Linked DNA regions of Homo sapiens: region 1 is linked to region 2. The links are contacts of gene promoters, found by promoter capture Hi-C in blood cells and fetal thymus (Javierre and others, 2016). All regions are on one chromosome and are shown on one strand. Each heading gives the region's core, a stretch centred on a gene start or on the middle of the fragment in contact. The rest is flanking DNA. Distances are from core to core; before and after follow the strand shown. Region 1 holds the start of ARPC1B (actin related protein 2/3 complex subunit 1B). Region 2 holds the start of ZNF3 (zinc finger protein 3).

The links. Contacts are between HindIII fragments. The CHiCAGO score rates a contact against its expected background, and 5 or more counts as called.
Region 1: the fragment with the promoter of ARPC1B here is called in contact with a fragment that was not itself captured in region 2 in 1 of 17 cell types (fetal thymus); the score reaches 6.3 in fetal thymus.

Annotation. Positions count from the first base shown.
Region 1 is chr7:99,373,253-99,376,085 of GRCh38, forward strand. ARPC1B (actin related protein 2/3 complex subunit 1B) reads left to right here and starts at 1,478. Exons shown (of 10, transcript NM_005720.4): 1 at 1,478-1,529. RefSeq lists an enhancer at 58-558 and silencers at 859-1,738, 1,749-2,388. The HindIII fragment of the contact is 2,162 bases long and covers 1-1,889 here.
Region 2 is chr7:100,079,319-100,082,160 of GRCh38, forward strand. It overlaps ZNF3 (zinc finger protein 3), which reads right to left and starts at 2,405. Exons shown (of 6, transcript NM_032924.5): 1 at 2,317-2,405; 2 at 218-338. RefSeq lists enhancers at 2,344-2,493, 2,650-2,842 and a silencer at 2,734-2,813. The HindIII fragment of the contact is 2,766 bases long and covers 210-2,842 here.

The sequences.
Region 1 (2,833 bases), core at 228-2,727, 710 kb before region 2:
ACATACTGCAGGACAAACCAATGTCGGCAGGTGAGGACAGGGTGGGAATAGTGTTCCAGGCAGAAGGAACAGCGAGTGTCAAAGCCTCTAAGCCTGACAGGGTGGGAGTCTGGCCTCGGATCTCCAGAGATCCAGGAAGACCCTGCACAAATACTAGAGAGAGGGGTCTGAAGGAGAGAAGAGGAGGGAAGGTTTTTGTTGTTGTTTGAGAGGAAGTCTCGCTCTGTTGCCAGGCTGGCGTGCAGGGGCCCCATCTTGGCTCACTGCAGCCTCTGCCCCCGGGGTTCAAGCAATTCTCGTGCCTCAGCCTCCCGAGTAGCTGGGATTACAGCAGCGCTCCATCACGCCATGGGGCTCCTTGCAGCTAATTTTTTTTTTTTTTGAAACAGAGTCTCACTCTGTCGCCCAGGCTGGAGTGTAATGGCGCGATCTCGGCTCACTGCAACCTCTGCCTCCTAGATTCAAGCGATTCTTCTACCTCAGCCTCCCGAGTAGCTGGGATTACAGGCATGCGCCACCACGCCTGGCTAATTTTTGTATTGTTTAGTAGAGACGAGGTTTCACCGTGATAGCCAGGATGGTCTCGATCTGAGCTCGTGATCCTCCCGCCTCGGCCTCCCAAAGTGCTGAGATTACAGGCGTGAGCCACCGCGACCGGCCGAGGTAAGGTTTTCACTGGGGTCTCTTCCATCTGCCTGGCCGCCAGGCCACGTATCCACTGAAGAGGCAGAGGGTCAGGATGGGAAGACTCCGGGGACCACCTAGCCCAAGACCCGCAATCAGGCGGCTCTGCAAGGCTAACCGGGTAACTTAAAGAAGTGAAGCCGATTGACGTAAAACAGAAAGGAAAGAAGTTAACTGGCCGGCCAGCGTCAGCAGGGGCGGCCAGTGTCACCCTGCCCGGGGACAGCACCCCTGTTTCGTGGCGAGGACACGGAGGGCCAAGGGGGCGGGGCCGGGCTGCCCTGGCCACGCCCGGACCGCCTGCTCCCCGCCCAGGGCCTGCACAGTTGGCGCCCACCGGCATCAGCGTGAAGGGAGCTCCTCGCTGGCTGCCGACGGGGCTGCAGGGCTCGCTAGCCGCTCACCTGCGTGTGAGCGCGGAGCCCGCAGTACCCGCCGTCCGGGCTCAGAGGACGTGACTCCCCGACCCTGCGCCCGGCAGTCCCCGGGGGCCGTGCGCCCGGCCCAGGCTCGGAGGTCCAGCCCAGCGGCGGCTCAGGCTGCGCGCCTGGCTCCCAGCCTCAGTTTCCCCATTGGTAAAGCATTGACGGTGGTTGCGGACGGCTTCTGCGGACAGAGCCTTGGGCTCCGACGTCTGCGCGGGTACCGGCAGCACCCCCACCCCGAAGGGAGGGCGGGACCTGGATCTCGCGACCGCTGCCCCAGGTCCCCGCCCCCGGGCCCTACCGGGCTGAGGTCGGCAGGCCCCGCCCCCCGCCCACGAGGAAGTGGCTGCTGCTCCGGCGCGGAGCCCAGAGCCGGTTCGGCGCGTCGACTGCCCAGAGTCCGCGGCCGGGGCGCGGGAGGTGAGGGCCGTGGGGGCGCCCGGAGGTGGGGGTCAGGGGAGCCACCTGGAGGTGGGGGGGCGCGTAGATGTGGGGCGCCGCCTGGGAGTGAGCGGGACTGGAGGGATGAGAGGGGGTGCAAGGAGGGGACCGGGGGGCGCCTGGAAGTGAGGACGCATAGATGTGGGGCGCCGCCCAATAGGGGCACGGGGATGAGTGGGGGCACATGGAGAGGAGGGGGCGCGGGGACGAGGGGCTCACGGAAAGGAGAGGGAGCCCTGGGATTGGAGGGGGCGCGGGGGTGGCCGCAGGGCCAGACTGTGGAAACGCGGGCTCCCAGCGCACCGGGCGCCCTCGGGGCGTCCCCAGCCCCCGGCCCCAAGCTTCCGCCTCGTGCCTTCCGCCCCTGCTCCCCGGCCCCCATCCCCAGCCTTGCCCCGCGGTCGGTCGGTGTAGCCCCGTTACTTCGGGCCGGCGGGGCCCCACACCCAGTCACTTCCCCTCCATCCCCGGAGCCTTCCGGGTTGCAGCCGCCGGGAAATGAGCTGGCGTCTCCTGCCGCCCCGCCCCTGCCCTCCTGGCCGCTCCCGCTGCTCCCACCCGCCTCCCCCGGGCCAGGTCCGAGGGGTCCCGTACGGGGCGGGCCTGGCTGGCGGGGTCCCGGAACGCACCCCCTCAGCTGCAGGGCTCCGCGGCCAGGGCAGATCCGAGCAGCCCCTCCCTTTCCGGAGGCGCTGGGAGAGCAGCCAGGCCGCCTAGGGCGGGGCGGGGCCGGGCTGCACCCGCGGGCAGTGAAGGGATCAGGAGTGCAAGCCTGGGGAGTCAGACCTCCCCCTGCCTCCTCTGCCAATGCAGCCCGGAGGCTACCACCACCCATCCCGGCCGGGCGCGGTGGCTCACACATAGAATCCTAGCATTTTGAGAGGCCCAGGCGGGAGGATCGCTTGAGGCCAGGAGTTGGAGGCCAGCATGGACAGCATTGCGAGACCCTTTCTCTATTAAAATAAATAAATAAAATGTAGCCAGGCGCTGTGGCTCATGCCTGTAATCCCAACACTTTGGGAGTCGAGGTGGACGGATCACTTGAGGTCAGGAGTTCGAGACTAGCCTGACCGACATGGTGAAACCCTGTCTCTACTAAAAATACAAAAATTACCCAGGCATGGTGGCACGCACCTGTAATCCCAGCTACTCAGGAGGCTGAGGCAGGAGAATTGCTTGAACCCGGGAGGCAGAGGTTGCAGTGAGCCGAGATCACGCCATTGCACTCCAGCCTGGGCAACAGAGCAAGACTCCGTCTCAAAAAAAAAAAAAAAAGCCACGTA
Region 2 (2,842 bases), core at 343-2,842:
AGCTGGAACTCAAAGGCATATTGTTGAGAACAAGCACCCAGTGTCCAGATCAGTAAACAGCGTTTCTCACAGAAAGAAAACTCTCCATTGTGCCCCCATGGCTTCAGGTCCAGACAGGGCCCTTCCCCTGCTCTGTTGCCAGCCTCACTCCCTGGTGCTGCCCGTGGGGACCGAGATAGATGGCCTGGCAGTAAGAACAAGACACGGAAAGCTTTACCTGCCTGATTCTTTCCTTCCTTCTTTGAAGTCAGTCCCTAGAAGGCCAAAGGAGCAATTACTGGGAATTTAGCAGCCTCTGTTCAAGTTCCCGGGAATTCTGACTTTTGTTGATGCCAATGCTGTGTGATTAAGGGGAAAAAAAGGAATTTAAAATATTCATGCAAACGTCTTTTTTTTTCCATGAGACAGGGTCTGACTCTGCTGCTCAGGCTGGAGTGCAGTGAGTTTGAGCTCACTCCAGACTCAAACTCCTAAGTTCAAGTGATCCTCCCAGCTCAGCCTCCCAAGGAGCTGGGACTAAAGGTGTGCACTGCCACATCTGGCTGAGTTTTTTAAAATTCTTTTTGTAGAAATGCAGCCTCACTGTGTTGCTCAGGCTGGTCTCAATCTCCTGGCCTCAAGTGATTCTCCCACCTCAGCCTCCCAAAGTGCTGGGATTACAGGCATGAGCCACCGAGTCCAGCCTAAACTTCATTTCTAATCAAGACATTTAAAGAAAAGGAAAAAAAAGAGAATACTTATTATATGCTAATAAATACCAATTAAGACCACCACCACAACTAGTATTTGCGTTGCACCCGTGGAGAGATGAAAGGGAATGGTAGGTTCTCAGGTCCACCTCCACCCAGGGTAAGAAAGTTCTAACGTTCTGTCAGCTAACTTGCTAGACACTGTGCTCCGAACTACTTCAGCAGGGGATCCACATTGCACAGCTGAGCCATTAGAAGTCTTCAGGTGATTCGCTGAAAATCTATCTCCTTGGACCTTCACCGCACAGAGACCTAGTGCATCACAGAAATTCAATGACTGGCGACCTGCAGTGGCTCACGCCTGTAACCCCAGCACTTTAGGAGGCTGAGGTGGGAGGATTACTTGAGCCCAGGAGTTCCAGGCTATGGTGAGCCATGATGGCACCACGGCACTCCAGCCGGGGGCAACAGAGCAAGACCTTAATACACACACAAACATTTTAAAAGGAAAAAAAAAAAAAAGGCCGGGCGCGGTGGCTAACGCCTGTAATCCCAACACTTTGGGAGGCCAAGGCAGGTGGATCACTTGAGGCCAGGAGTTGCAGACCAGCCTGGCCAAAAGGGCGGAACCCCGTCTCTACTAAAAATACAAAAAATTCGCCGGAGGTGGTGGCGGGCGCCTGTAGTCCCAACCACTCGGGAGGCTGAAGCAGGAGAAGCGCTTGAACCGGGAGGCGGAGGTTGCAGTGAGCCGAGATCGCGCCACTGCACTCCAGAGACAGTCTCAAAAATAAATAAAAATTAATTTTTTTAAAAAAAGAGCTTCAATAACAGAATCTTCTCCTTCCACCCGACTGTCCATCAAACACGTATAATCAAATGATGCCCACTCTCCACAGATGTCTTTTCTGGAGAAAATAATACGCTCGTTCCTCTAATTAGCCCATCGGTTTCAGGTTCATCACTCTGCTATCTTCTCCTGGAGTTTACAAAAGCCCTTCAGAGTGTAAACACCGATGTGGATTCAATCCCACTTCCGGAGAGAGGATCAAACCAGGAATCTAATACAACTGAAAACGGAGCCTGAGCCAGGTGTATCACGCGATGCACTGGGCTCCAGCAGGATTACCCCTGGAATCGGCGTCTGCACCCACTCCCAGCCCTCGTGCTAACTGCGTACGCTTAGCAGAATTTCTCTGATCCTTGGACCCAGCTGCGTAAAAATAAACTTCCTCTCCTGCCACGGGCGCGAATAACTGTGTTAACATCAAATAAAAACGTCTGGGAGAAATACCAAGTTAGGGTCGCTGTCATTAGCTGCTTTCAAGAGAGAGGCGCCCCTACCGCTCTGCTGAAACTTTTAAACGCTCCAGCTGGGTCGCCGTTAAAGTCACAAAACCAGAACCGGAGCCCCATTACTAACCCCTACGCAGGATCCCGCTAGGCTAGGGGGATCCCTGGGGAAGCGGAGTAGAGGACGGGCTGCAGGGGACGGAGGGGCGCCTCCCCGAACCCTGCTCCGGGCCGGCCGGGGGACCCTGCGGGCCGCAGTGGCACAGACACCACCCCCTTCCCCGGCGACCACAGCCTCCGTCTCACCGCGAGACCCGGGGACGCGTGGACTCACCCTGGGGGCAGGGACGACAGATTTGGGGGACCGGACACGGACCAGGCCCTGTTGGACCCTGTCACAGACCCACACACCGGGGACAGAACAAAGAACGGAAGTTCCCCCTCGTTTCGCTTCCGGGTCGGTTGTTCTTGCCACTCACCCGTACCCCCAACGCCCACTTGTTCTGTCTAGGAAAATGGGAGGTCCTCGCCTCTCTGTGGTTTGCTGACTCAGGGCGGCTGGCAGGCGGCGAGGGCAAGGAGCGCGATCGCTGACGCGGCACTCGGGGATCTTTCGCTGCGGGGGCTGGCCGGCTGCGCCCTCTGCTGGCCACGAATGTGCGAAAGCGGCCGACCACGGTCCTGGGCCTCAGGACATGTGCTCCAGCGTCGCCGGCCTTGGGGGCGGGCGGCGGGGGCGCGCGGGGATGTCGAGCCCGCGCTTCTCAGGCTGGCTCGCGAAGGGCAGCAGTAAACATACAATTATTGAAGGATTCATCAATATTAAAAAATGAACCCTGATTTAAAACTTGCCTCCGAAC